Regions from separate parts of the Homo sapiens genome. Here region 1 is linked to region 2. The links are contacts of gene promoters, found by promoter capture Hi-C in human tissues and cell types (Jung and others, 2019). All regions are on one chromosome and are shown on one strand. The core of a region is centred on a gene start or on the middle of the fragment in contact, and the rest is flanking DNA. Distances in the headings are between cores, read along the strand shown.

Evidence for each region. The method cuts DNA at HindIII sites, captures the fragments that hold promoters and counts their contacts. A contact is called where the count stands out against the background at its distance.
Region 1: a fragment that was not itself captured here is called in contact with the fragment with the promoter of NKD2 in region 2 in 1 of the 25 tissues and cell types used here (lymphoblastoid cells).

What each region holds. Positions count from the first base shown.
Region 1 is chr5:955,472-962,220 of GRCh38, forward strand. No RefSeq gene overlaps it. Among named protein-coding and RNA genes, the nearest start is that of LINC02982, 38 kb to the right of the region's middle. RefSeq lists an enhancer at 5,205-5,444. The HindIII fragment of the contact is 8,141 bases long and covers 1-6,749 here.
Region 2 is chr5:1,005,990-1,013,359 of GRCh38, forward strand. NKD2 (NKD inhibitor of Wnt signaling pathway 2) reads left to right here and starts at 2,813. Exons shown (of 10, transcript NM_033120.4): 1 at 2,813-3,093; 2 at 3,190-3,225; 3 at 3,492-3,571. The coding sequence starts at 3,069. RefSeq lists enhancers at 1-155, 1,309-2,074, 2,075-2,840. The HindIII fragment of the contact is 40,301 bases long and covers 1-7,370 here.

The DNA of each region.
Region 1 (6,749 bases), core at 1,769-4,268, 50 kb before region 2:
TATGTCTCTGTCTCTGCTTCTGTCTGTCTTTCTCTGTCTCTCTGTTTCTCTATGTCTCTCTCTCTGTTTCTCTGTATTTCTCTGTCTCTGTCTGTTTCCCTATGTCTCTGTCTGTTTCTCTCTTTCTGTCTCTCTGTTTCTCTATGTCTTTCTCTCTGTTTCTCTCTGTATTTCTCTGTCTCTGTCTGTTTCCCTATGTCTCTGTCTCTGTTTCTCTCTGTCTTTCTCTCTCTGTTTCTCTATGTCTCTGTTTCTCTCTGTATTTCTCTGTCTGTTTCCCTATGTCTCTGTCTCTGTTTCTCTCTTTCTCTGTTTCTCTATGTCTCTCTCTGTATTTCTCTGTCTGTTTCCCTACGTCTCTGACTTTGCTTCTCTCTGTCTTTGTCTGTCTCTCTGACCCTGTCTCTGTCTCTCAGTCTCTCCCTCCTATGAGTGACAGCCATAGCCTCTCTTAGAATGCTAAATGGAAGCGTTGTTAGAAGGCCTGTCTACTGTGTTCTGGTCTGACGGGGACAGTTTCTCTGTCTCGCCATTTAGTGCCGTACTGTATTTGCTGAAGGTTTTTTGAAGACCCTTTGTCCAGTTAAGGAAATGCCTTTCTATGCTTAGCCTGCTGAGAACCTTTTCATGACTGGCTGTTGAATGTTCCCAGATGCTGTTCTGCATTTGCTAAGGTGGCCACGCGGTTTTCTTCCTGACTTTGCTAGCGTGAGCTCCAGGAAGGCGGGCCTGTCCGTGTTCACCGCTGAGCCCGCCCGGAAGGCACCGTTTACGAAGCACCTTGCACATCCGGCTCCATTCTGCACCCTGGCTTCCTCATCTGGAAAATGGGTCCATCTCGGTGATCTGGGCTGGAGACCTCGGACTCAGGGCAGTGCCAGCTGGGCCCCAAGTGGAGGTGACAGCTGGGGACCAGAAGGGGCTACCGCATAGCCGGGGAGTGAGGGGCTGGTGCTGGCCAAGGCGCCTCTGACTGACCTCTGCTCTCTCGCCAAGTACCCAGGAGATGTCCCAGAAAGAACGGCAGCTCCACTGAGATCTTGAACCTCAGAGACCCCCTCCCAGGGCTCTGACACGCGGCGTCCACGGGGTCTTCAACTCACCCGTGAAGACCCGGCACCCTCTGAGGGCAACTCCACCCCACCTTGCAGTCCCACAGCAGCTGAAGCCCAGCAGGGCTGGGGGCTGAAGACCCTCCAGCATGGCTCAGGACCTCGGAAGGGCCAGGGGAGGCGGGCTTCCTGCAGGAGATGCCGGCACTCCCCAAAGGACTCTTCAGGGTTGGGGGCGGACGTGAAGGGAGGAAACCCACTCACCCTACTTGAATTCTGAACACGCACATGGATCTCGGTTCCACCTCCCTTTACAGTCTATTTAGGTCCTGCTCCACCTTGGAGTTCTGATGCCCATGAGTGGGGCAGAAATTCCCAGCATCATGGCAGGGAAAGTCGGTGGGGCTCAAAGCTCCAGCCAAGAATGGCTCTGCATCTGCCTGGTTCTCTCTTCAATCGGGGCTTCTGTGGCCAGGACACTGGCATTTCATAAATAATTACACATTCCTTAAACTCTCACAAAGCCAAGAGGAAACAAAACCGCAATGCTGAGATTCCTGGAATGTTTTCCAGTTATCTGGGCCAAGCAGAGGCCCAGTGGGGGCTGTGCAGCGCGCTTAGCCTGGGACTGGGCCGTAGTCCCCTTTCTTGTGGCATTTTAGCTAAAAGACCTGAAAGGAAAATGAAAGGCGCTTTATGACTGTGGTGTTCGTCAGGGTCCCCAGACAATGGGGGAAGCCCATCCAATCCTCAGAGCTGGCTCGGGGCAGCCCCATGGATCTGTGCCCTGGGACTGACCTCGGGGCCAAGAGAACCCTCAAAGGCTGAGGTCACCCCGCCAGGGTCGGTTTAGGTGTGGCGCCTCCTCTGGACGCCCCTGGGATTGCCTGCGCGCCCGGCCCGGAGCTCCTGTTCCAAGCAGGGAGCATCCCTGGACCGTGCCCTCGTTCCTTTGAGGTTTTCTGTGGCACGCACCACAGTTTAATGCGACTCACCCCAGCCATGCTGGGGCTGGTTTCCTGTTACAAACACAGGCTTAGTTTTAAGATCAAACAACTGTTTGGGTTGTGGTCTGACCTCGCAGGGGATGTGGCTCAGGGCCTGGTGCAGCCTGGCCAAGGGGTGACGTCCGGTCATGCTGGCTTCATTCCCTGAGCACCGCAGCCTTCTCTGTGTCCCCTGTCCCTGCCCACCTGGCCTCCTCAAGCGTCTGTCCAGCCCAGCCCAGGTTGCGCTCAGCAGTGGCTCACTGGCCCCTCTGCCATCCTTGCCACCGATGCCCAGCCTTATTTATTTGGGGTATTTCTGGGCCATTCCACCCACTCCTCTTGAGGGCACCCAGCGTGTCCCTTGCCCTGTGTGGTCGGCGCCCATCTCTGAAGTGCGGGAAGCAGGAAGCAAGGCCTGCTGATGGGAAGGACCCACGGCTCTGGCTAGAATGGCTTTGGCCCTAAGCCAAAGCTGAGGGTGTGGGGAAGCAGGAAATCCAGTGTGGAAGCCATTTTGGACGTCAAATCAGTGGGTCAGGGACTGCTCACACAGGGTCGTCTTCTTGTGACTTTTCAGGGACTTGCTTTTACCCCCCTTCTCTGGTGAGCTTTCTAGACAAGGCTGCGACATGACATTCTCATTCTGTTTGGAGCAGGATGAAGGGTTCGTGCGTAACACTATGAGGCGTGGACGGGGCTGAGAACTGGCGCATGGCTGCCACCTGCTGTGGTGGTGACCACCGGGAGTCTCCCTCGCAGGCTGTCTGGCTCAAAAGGTGACAAAGTTCCAGCCACGGGGCCCCTGCTCAGCCCTGAGGACACCCACACTGGCACAGGGGACACTGCGGCAGTCAGGGAAGGGCACCTCCCCACGCTGGCACAGGGTCTCAGCACAGGGGACACTGCGGCACTCAGGGAAGGGCACCTCCCCACGCTGGCACAGGGTCTCAGCACAGGGGACACTGCGGCACTCAGGGAAGGGCACCTCCCCACGCTGGCACAGGGTCTCAGCGAGAGACTACGGCATTTGGGGAAGGGCCATTTTGTCATTGACTGGAACTTTCTCAAGAAAGCATTTTCCACTTGCGTTTCCATGGAGGTCGGCTTTGCTGGAAACCACAGGACCCTGCCCTCCACCAGACACACAGTGTGCAGAGGCGTGTACCCGAAAAGCAAAGTGCGGCCTCACACGGTTCTTTAATCTGGAGCCGGACTCCTGGGAAACAAACCAAACAGACGCAGGTACGTGCTCAGCTCTGCCGTTGCGGTTTGGTTCAGGACTAGGGCCGTGCAGATGCCTGGCAACAGCCGTGCCTGGGGGAGGATGTGGCGCTGGGAGCCCGCAGGCCGGGAGCAGGCGCCGGGGGAGCTTCGGCGGTTCTGGAGGGACTGGGTGTTCCCGCCAAGGCGTTGCTGGCCAGGGGCACAAAAAACAGCGCGGATGGGAAACGGAGCAGCCGCACTCTGTCCGATGAGTCCACACGTGGGCGGCTGCGTTCAGTGCTCCCTGGCACGGGGACCCCAAGCCGTAAGCCGGACACCACGTTCCCAAAGCCAGGAGGGTCATGACATGTGCGTGCGGTGTCCAAAGGCCAAACCAAGGTTGCGGTCCCTGCCAAGTAGGCAGTGATTCACACCTGGGGAAGCGATGTGATTGGCCTTCTTCTATTCAAATAATGTAAGCATAAGGGACAGAGAACGCCAGTGCTTGCGCTTGACAAATCTCTGGGCATTTTGCCAAGGGCCGAGCTCGGCTCCCCACCCCCAGCCCTGCCCCCCACGTGACAAGGCCCCATCGGCCCCCAAGTCCATCTGAGCTCACACTCACGCAACAGGCAAGCCTCCTTCCAAACGAGTACCCTTTCCAAAGCCCAAGTGGCCACTCCCCCACCATGGGGCTGGGACAGAGATGACCGTAGACCTCAAGCCGCTATGGGGACTTGGGTCACAAGGTGCCGCAATGCCCGGGTGCCCCCTGTGCCTCAGTTTCCCCATGTGGGAAATGACTCCATATTGGCAATGTGAGGCATCGAATATCTGAGACTTGGGCAGCGTCTCGTTGCCAAGTCAGGGCACTGCCAGCCGGGCCCAAATTCAAGGCGACGGCCGAGGCTTGAGGCACCACGGCCCCAGTGGTCAGCGGGGGGTCAGCGGGGGGTCAGCGGGGCAGTCAGCGGGGCCGCCATAAGATGGTGGGGCCGGTGGGGGGTTTCAGAGGCAGCTCTTCCCCTCACACTCCGATGCCGCGGAGAGAGCCCAGGGCTGCAGGTGGGGAAGGGCGTGCCTGCGTCTCCGATGGAGGTGACCTCTGGGGCTCTCCTGCTTGCTGCCCAGGTCGGACGTCCCTCTGCTGGCCCATCTCCTGCGCCACACCCACCATTCCCTTCTCACCCCCTGAAGCTCCCTCGTCCTCACAAAAGCAGCAGGGCCACTTATGCGCCGTCCTGTTTTTCTGGACACCATGACCAGGATGGGACAGGACTCGTGAACCCACACGTGAGATCACACTAAGATCCTAAAGGCTTTGCGCTTCTCCAGAGCGGCTGCTGTCTCATGCACACCCGGCCTGGTGTGCCCGCCCCACCCAGTGTGCCCATCCTGCCCAGTGAGTGTCCCCCCCGTGTGCCTGCCCTGCGTGGTGAGGGCCCCCCTCCCAGTGAGTGTCCCCCGCCCGGTGTGCCTGCCCTGCCCGGTGTGCCTGCCCTCCCGGTGTGCCCTCCCACTGGGTGTGTGCCCGCCTGGTGTGCCCTCCCCACCCCACCCCACCTGGTATGAGCGCCCAGGTCAGCCGGGCTGCAGGATTCTCAGGGAGTCCAGGCAGCCGCCCCAGCCCCTGGCAACCCCTTCTCAGCAGGCTGGACCCAGAGCCTCACAGGGGCGTCCCCAGCACTTCCTGCCCCTGGGGTTCCTCTTCCCTGATTCACCTGAACCCAGACCGCACGTGGCAGACACGTTCCTGCCCAGACCCGGACGCCTCCATCTGCTTGGACCACTGGCTTCCCTCACGCTTTGACCGTCAGAACAGACAGGTGGTTTCTTTTAAACCTGGGCCACCCCGTTTTGCCCTGTAAATGCTGTTATTTTTAAAGCAACTGAATAATGTGATTTTCCTGCTTTGCTTCACGCCAGCCCTGGGCTGCGACTCTGCTGCTGCCTGCCCTTGCCCTGCCACTCCTGCAGAGGCCTCCTCCCCACCCACAACTCACAGTGGCCACATGGGCTGGGCTTCTCACCTCGGCCACCTCCTCCCATGTCACCCATGTGATGATGACGGAGGGCCCAGGGGTGCCAGGACTCAGAGCCGGAGCCTCTGCCCTAGTGCCTGGCTCTGCGTGGGAGGTGGGGTGGCCAAGCTTCAGCTGTCTTCTCAGTGGGCCTTTGACACCACTTTGTATCTTCCTATTAAAAATGTGTGCAATGCTGTAATGGAGGGGGGCCTTTCCGTCACCTTGGTGCCAGCACACACTCCACCCTCCAGGGAGGCCACAGGATCTGGTGAGGACAAGGCGCCCTCCACGGCAGCACAGCTGCCACAGCTTCCAGGGAGATCCCTGGGGGCCCACCGTGGGACCACTTGCCAAGCTGCTCCCCCTTCTCCGTCTCTTTCCTGACCTGCTTCGTCCTCTGGAACCCAGCCAGGCTGCTCTCCTCAGCAGCCTTCACACACGGGCGTGGCCATGAGGCCACTGTCCTTCCAGAGAATCCAGGGGACGGGAGGTGAGCCACTCCCGACGGGCGAAAGAGTCTTCCTGCGTGTCCCTCTGGGACCTGTGGGCCAGCTGGTGGGGAGACAACAGCCCCAGAGACCGTGAAGCCTCTGCCACGGCGGGTCTGCGTGAAGGATGTCCTTCCTGGTGGTCCACACTGCCGCAGAAAAATGACCCCCAAACTCAACGGGGTTCTGAAGGGCTTGGCTGGGTGGGTCTGGCTCAGCTGAGCAGCTGTCCCAGGCCATGGCTCTGAAGCCTCCACAGGGCTGGAGGGGCAGGTCCAAGCTCACCCCCAGTGCTGGCAGGTCGCGGCTCCTCGTGGCTGTGGGCCGGACGTCTCCTCACCATGAGGGCCTCTCCACGCAGGGCCCCGCACGCAGTGGCTGGCTTCCTTCAGGACGAGTGACCCAAGGCAGACAGAGTGACCCAGAGGGAAGCCACAGGGTCCTTCAGGCCCTGGACTCAGGAGTGGCATCCACTTGTGCTCTGGTCACATGGACACACCTGGCCCGGCATGGGAGGACGACACACAGCTTTGAGTACCTCCTTGTCTCTGGGCCGTCCCGGGCCCTCAGGCCCCAGAGATTCTGTGATTCTCCCAGCAAAATGCAGCCACTCCTCCCAAGGCCCCCAGAGTCTGCTGCCGTGTGAGGGCTCTATTGGCCCCAGGAGACTTTTCGAGGGTCCTGCACAGCTGCTGGCAGGCTTTGGTCCTTGCGGGCTGTTGTCTGGAGTCCCGTGCACCTCGGGAGATCGCTCTGTTCTCGCGTCGCCTGAGTTCCCACGGCATGGCTGCTGGCTTCACCCAAGCCCGTGACCCAGGAGACAGAGCAACCAGGAGGGAGACCTGGCATGTCCAGCCCAGTTTCGGAAGTGACCCATCTGCACTCTGCCGCATGCTGTCGGCCGCACAGACTCACCTGGGACTACGTGGAAGAAACCGCAAGGGCGTGAGTGCCAGGAAGCCAGGCTCACCAGGCAGAGCCGTTGCATGAGCA
Region 2 (7,370 bases), core at 1,563-4,062:
TCCTAGTGAGTGTGTGAGGATAATAGTGTTACATGTTATGCAAAGGGATTGTGAACTGGCATGGGGGTCAGGTTTGCAGGGCCTGGAGCTGGTGACTCCAGCTCTAGAACAACCCCAGGCCGGCTCTGCCCTACCCAGGAGAGATGGTCATAGGGGAAAGAGTCCAGTGGGCATTGGAGGCGTAGGGGCCACTTAGGGTTGCCCTTTGAGCTGACAGTGGGGTACAGATTCAGCTCTGCAGTGCCCCTAACCCCCACTGCGGATCCACCCGGGGGAATGCCCTGAGGACACGCGAGGTGAGGGTCAGGCGTGTCCTGCTGGGTGGGAACTCCGGACCCTCTGGGAAGGAATGGGTGAATCGGCTGCTCTCACTCTCCAGCTCCCACTCAGAGGAGCCCTGGGGGATCCCATTCCTCTACCTCAGAGGACTCCCAGGACACTGTCTGAGCCCAGTGGGAGGAGGACACACAGCCCTGATCTGCCAGTCAGTGGGGCTGAGGGTCAAGCTGTGCGCCTTGTGTGCTGGCGGCGTCCCGCCTGGGATGGATGGAGATGGTCTGTACTTTCATGGGTGAATTGTAGGGCCCCTGAATTGTATGTATCTCAATAAAGCTGCTAAAGAATAAATGTAAAACCTTTGCCTAGTAACTCAGGTTCACTGGAGTGCATGGGGAGTTTCTGCTGTTTGGACTCTGCATGTGCCTAGTTCCAAGTGACAAGGTGGGTGCGAGGGCACGGCAGCCAGTGCAGGCCCAGCCTCATGGGCTCCTCCAGCTTGGGCACCCTGTAGGGTGTGGGGTTGGTGCCATGGCCCGCCCCCACCCCCCACCTCCACCTGTCCTCCCAGGACACTTCCTCCCCCAGACCTCCTGACATCTGCATTTAGCAAGGACCAGAGCTCAGTCAGCAGAGGAGTGAAACACAATGGCCCTTCCCCACCTGGCTGGGGCACCTCAGCCAACCTCCCCCAGTGGGACCTTCTCGGGGTCTTGGGAGGAGGGCCCATGCATGTGTGAGGCAAGGCTCCCAGCCACACAGGGGACACGAGCCCACCAGCAGATCTTCACCCAGGGTGGCTCATCGGTCCTCATGTAAGGGCAGGATTTAGAGGCACGGGAAGGGCTGCAATCCTCAGGCTGTGCTACTTTGCATAACATGTAACACTATCATCCTCACACACTCACTAGGACCCTGAGACCACAGAAGATGGCATTGTTACCTTCCAAATTGGGAGTTAAAGTCCACTTGGGGTAGCGCAAGGGAGAGAGGAGGGGCCGAAAGAGCCTGGGAGGGTGGCCCTGGCCCTGAATCTGGACGCCTGGACGCTATACACAAGGGCGCTCTGAGCCCATCGCAGGCACGGCCTGGCCGGGTGCAACCCTGCTACCAGGTGCCAGAGCTGTCTGCCTGCAGGAAGTGGCCCCTCCACTAGGGTTCTTCAGAGGATGGTGGGAATGGCTCGCAGGCAAGACTACTCCCAGGAGGGTCCGTGTGCCCTTGTTCATGTGCTCGCCCACAGCTCATGTATCTGCGGACAGCCAGCAGGGGAGGCTGCTGGGGTGGGGGGCGGGCCTCTGGTTTAACTTTCCGTTTTGCCACTGAGCAGCCTAGGCCTCTGTAAAATCGTGTGATGGCGGCATCTGCCCCGAGGATGGTCTGAGAATGGGAGGCAGTAATTGGAGTGAAAGGGCTTGGCTGGACGTCAGCTCCAGAGGTGCAAGTCAGCACTGGGCAGCCGCGGAGCTGCGCTGCTCAGCTGTGAGACAGGGCTCCAGCCAGGGGAGTGGGAACAGAGAGACCGGGTGGGACCTGGGCCAGCTTAGCGGAGGCCTGGCAGGGCCGGAGCTGGGCAGGTGAGGGGTCCCGCACCGCCAGCCTCGGAGCTCCAACTCCAGGGACGGGAGCTGCCCTGGCAGAAGGTGGGGTCACCCACTGAGGTTGGAGACGTGGGCGTGGCAACAGCCCGTGGGGAAAATGCTGAGCTAGCTCTTGAAAGGCTGGGGAGATACAATGTATCAATGCAACAGGGCGTGGCAGGGAGGAGAGTCATGGGTAGGGAAGGGAGAAATGTCCCAGAAACAGGAGCAAGTTAGGGTTCCAGGAGGAAGTGAGGGAAGAAGGTTCCTCTGAAGGTAAATAAGGAAGAGAGCCCTGAGGTACCCAGCAGGGTAGGAGGCAGAGAGGGGGTCCAGTGAAGGGTACTGAGGGACGGGTCTCCAGAGCCAGCTGGAGGAGCTTGAGATGAGGCCAGGGAGGTAGCAGCTGAAGCCACTGAGTTGGACACGTGGAGGAGGCAGCGCAGGTGGCCAGGCTTGGGGCTCCTGGGAGGCTCCAACACCCTCAAGGCACAGGTCGGAGGAGACCCTGCTCAAACCAAGGACAAAGTGAGGGGGTGCAGGGCCCTTCCAGCCGGGGCCGGGGGGGGCCAACGCTGGTTCTTCATCAATTTGGAGCGCCAGGAGAGGGCGGGGATCTAGTCCTGCCGGATACCACCCCCCTTTGGGCTGCCCACACCCCCACCCCCTCTCCAGCAGCCAAGGGAGGCGGGTCCTCCCTTTCAAAGGGAGGTGCCCTCAGGCTCCTCTGGAATTGGGGATCCCTTGACCCAGGACGGCCTGGTGAGGGGTCGGAGCTGACTCCCGCCAGGCTCCGCTGCAGCACCTGACCGCCCCCACAGGTGGCCGGGCCGGGTCCTCATCGCTGGTGGGGCTCCAGGCTGGGAACGGGGGTCGAGGCCGATGCGCTGCGGGCAGCGGCCGCCGGGGGCGCTGCGGGGGCCGCGGTTAAAGCCCCGGCGCGGGCGCACGCGCTCAGAGGGAGCCGGGCCGCCGTCGCTGCCGCCGCTGTCCCCGCGCCCTGCGCCCGGTGGCCCCCCACCTCCGCCCCGCGGCCGTACCTGGCGCCCCCTGGCTCCCCCGGCCCCCGCGCGGCGTGGAGCCATCTTCCCTCACCTCCTACCGGCACCCTAGCTTGCTCCCGGCCCATGCGGCCCCCGCGGGCTCCCGGCCCCGGCTTCAGAACTCAGCCCTGCACCTGAGCGCGGGGCCCGGCGGGGCGTGGCGGCGGCGATGGGGAAACTGCAGTCGAAGCACGGTGAGCCGCGGGCCGGTAGGGCGGGAGGGCGGGCGGGCGGGCGTGGGGCCGCCTCTCACTGTCGTTTTCCTCTCCCCGCGTCCCGCCGTGCCGCAGCCGCCGCCGCCCGCAAGCGGAGAGAGAGCCCGGAAGGTGAGCGGGCGAGCCGACGGGCGGGGCGGGGGGCGGCGACCCGGCCCGGGACCCTCAGAGCTAGGAGCCCGCGCGCGTCCTGCCCTGGAGCCAGCAGTGGGGGGACGGGGCCGCGGGTCTCCAGGAGCGCGCGGGACCCCCACGCCTGCCCCTGCGCGGTCTCCAGGCGATGGGGACACAGCGAAGGCGCAGCGCCCGCGGGGCTCACGGCGCGTCTCTTTCCCTCCTCGGTGCGGGTTTCCCGCGCGTCCGCCCCCGGACCGCAGGGGACAGCTTCGTGGCGTCCGCGTACGCGAGCGGCCGCAAAGGCGCGGAGGAAGCGGAGCGGCGCGCGCGGGACAAGCAGGTAGGCGGCGGGGCGGAGGCTGGGGTCGCGCTGCGCACCCGCCCGGGGGCGGGGAGCGGTGTCAGAGCTGTTCCTGGTGCCCGCCCGCGGACAGGCGAGACGTGGGCCGCCATGGCCGCACGAGTGACCGGGGGCCAGGAGAGCCAGTCTCTCCCCAGCCTCCACGACGTCTGGGGCTCCCGTGGGGCGAGCCCTTGCTAGTGTCCCATGCTGAGTGGCGGGTAGGGGAATCGGAATTCCTTGTCCTAGGCTGGGAGCCGTGTGGGGGCTCCATGTTTCGGGCTGGAGGAGCTGGGCGAGTGGGAGGGGCTGGACCTAGACGTCCCGGGCTGGGGGTCCCGGGGAGCGGGAATGCAGTACCCCGGCTGGATGAGCTGGAGGAGTTGGAGGAGGGGTGGGAGCTACAGACCTGGGGCATCACTGGTCATAGCCTCAGTGCTCAATCAGCAAACATGGCCAGAGTCAGAGGCCTCGGTGCCTCCCATCTCTGGGAGGGGTGACCACAGGCCTGCTAGAGGCTCAGGAGACAGAGGGACATCTGCACAGCTGTGGCAAGGCTGCAGAGACTGCAAGGCTGGCTCAAGAGCCAGGCGGCCCTGAGGGTGGGTGAGGAAGGTGCTATGTCCAGGAGCAGAGAACTGTCCAGGTCTGGGGCCCTGGAAGGGCCTGGGGTAAATTAGACCTGCATGTTTGCTGAGCGTGAGAAAGCTAACATTTGATGGTCATCAGTGTCAGTGTGAACTGTATCGGTGCAGACAGCCCCACCAGGTGGCCAGGCCCACACTTGCCCCTTGCTTCCTCCCCCACTGTCCCCAGAGGTCCCCAGACACAGAACATGCCGGGTCACGCAATCAGTTTCCTTTTTGGAAAGACATTGTTCTGGCAGTTGATTAAAAAAAGTTCTGGGTGTGTTTGGAGACATTTTCTGCAGCTCTGTCTTGAGAAGGGGCTTAGGTCTGCTTGGAAATTAACATGCAATAGAGTTAGGATTGGTGCTTCCTGAGAGTGACCATCTAACGCCTGTGATGGTGGGAAGCACGCTGTAAGGTACAGTAAGTTGGGTGGTCCTGTGAGCCTCTATCCGGGACAGGGAGACCAGGGTGAGGTCATCCAGGGAGCTGTCCCCGCCCCAATCTGGCTCTCTCTGCCAGTTACATTTGCACAGGGGCTTGCTGGTGAGTGGATGGTGCCACTTAGCAGCCAGGTGCTCCTGGTATGATTAGTCAGTGATGTGAGCACCTGGGGTGGGCGGGCGTTCACCTCTCTCGTGGTCAGGGCTTTGGCCGGCCCCTGTCCATTGGCCCACTGGCCTGGAGCCTTCTCCCTGGGAGGCGCTGCACCATGAACCTTAAAATCCCTGAGCCAGCGCCCTCACCATGAAGTGCAGCTCCCAGGGCCATGGGGCAAGGCCAGTGCGCTCTGGAAAATGCAGGTGCTCCTCATGTGACTACGATGTCAGCGTGAGGGCTGCTCGTGGGCGTTTAGACCTGCCACTCTACACTGGGACATTTTCTTTAGAGAATAGCTTGGGAATTGGGGCTTGCTTGGATTGTTACCTTCTAATTTTGCCATCATTTCATGAAAGAAAACTCCTTTCTAAGTTAAAATGAACAAACTCAGAATCAAAGGCTGTCCTGTGAATTAAATACATTTCAGCTTTCAGACAAAAGTGCTGCCTTTCTGTATTTTCCGCCTCTGGCCATGACTCCTCCCACCTGGCATGGAGACCCCAGGGCCCAGGTGCGCCCTCACCTGGCCAAGTGCCCTCCCTGCCACATTGCTGTTCCTCTCACCTGGCAGCTGTTCCCCCTGCGACAGATCCTACTGACGTCCAGGAGAGTCGCAGGCCACCACAGCGAAGTGTCCCTCTGGCTCTCACCTTCTTCTTTTGTGTTGTCCAGAGCCTCGCCCATCGTCCTTGTCCTCCCAGGTGGTATCCACTGAGGAGGGCCAGTCCTGGGTCACCCAGGGCACCCCTTGTGATGCCTGGCTGGGGCCAGCGAGGGGACTCACTCCTTCCCTTCTCCAAAGTCCACCTCCTGGTTCCGTGCGAGGCATCCTGGGTGCCACAGAACGGTGGCAGAGAACCCTGTGGAGATTGGGCGCACTAAGAGCCAAGACCTCCGACCTACCCTCTCTCCCCAGCCCCCAAAATAACACAAATGAGATTGGCTATTATTAATTCCCTGTGAGCAATGCTGGCTCCTGCCTCTGTACGTGTCTGAAAACACCAACAGCAGCACTTTCCCAGACAGGTGTGTCTCTGCACCCCCGACGTGGCTCTCCCTGGCGACTCTGCGGAGCGCCACACTTTGCTTTTGGCGGGACCCGCACGGCTTCATCACCGAGTGTCCCTGAAGGGCTAGGGCCATGGGATCACTGGTGACGGTGCCGTGAAGGTCTGGAGAGTGGATTGTGAGGGATCCGGAGTCCCTGGGGATGTGCGTGGGTGAGGAGTGGTGCCATGGTGGCAGTGCACTTGTGTGGCTGTTTTTCCAAGTGGTAGTGACTGCAGGGAGGATGGCTTCAGGCCTGGGAACAGGCTGCCCCTGCACACTCACCCTCACCATCTGGTCTGCGAGACTAGCTTTAATTTCTACAGCGCTCCCTGAGGCTGGCGGAAAATGGTTCTGAAGACAAGAGTCACTGTTAACTGGAATGTTGTTGTGAATGGAGCACAGGCTTCCATGAAGTAGTGCTGAGGAAGGGTGCGCTGGGGCTAACTCCAGAGGCAGCATTGTAGCGAACACTCGTGACAGACCAGCCAGTGCGTGGAGGAGGCCGTGGCCCTGGCCTGCACGGGGGGCTCTTGCCCACATCTGCAGGAGGCAGCAGGCACGGCTCTGAGTGGCCCGTCTAGGGCAGGTCCCAGCTTACAGGAGGCACTCGCCAGTCCCATCCCCATGCCACGGCCCTTCTGAGTGTGCCAACATGGTACATGTTTCCTGGAAGGGAGCCAGGAGGACCACAGTCGTAAGACCTGCTGGCTCTGTCCAGGGCTGAGCTCCAGGCCAGGGCCCAGGCCTTCACCTGCACTGGCCTCTGGCTTCCAGCAGCAAACTCCATCTGCCCTCAGCATGGCCTTGCTCACGGGAACTGGGCTCAGCCCCACTACATGGCTTGACGCCTTCCGACTGGAACCAGCCACAGTGCCCCAGAGGCTCATATGCCTGCAGCTGGCCTTCCCCCAGAGGCAGGGGTGGGGCTGCCCCTTCCCTGCCCCTTCCCTGCCCCTCCTGGCCACCCAGGAGCCAGCGCTCACCTGTCCTCTGTGGGTCCAGAGAGCTGGATGTGGCAGTGGGATGCCCAGTTCTTGGTCAGTGGGAGCAGTTTCTTGTAGAAGATCCTGGAAAATTCTTCATGGCTTCAAGCACAGTCTGGACGCTACCGCATCAACACAGAGATGCAGGGTGGGGGCAAGATACACATTTGCAGGAGAGACTCGGGCCAGTGCACGTGCGCCCAGAGACAAGGCAGTGTGGACCATACTCTGCTTGGTGCTCGGCCACGTGCCACACAGAAGGAGAGGTTGTGGGTGCCCAGTCCACCCAGCTCTGCATTTGGGGGTGCAAGCCACTCCAAGATGTCCAGGAGAATGGCAGCTTCCAAAGGGAGCAGGGGTGCCTGGGGATGCCTCCAGCACAGACTCTGAGGGCCAACCTTCTGTCTTCTGTGACTCATGTTCCGGGACCCTGTGTCCTCATGGAGCTGAGGCCCATGTGGGGCTTTGTGTCAGAGCCGGCGGCAGCTGCAGTGTGTCATGGCTGCCCTTTGCTTTCTTTTTGGTGCCCTCTGTGTG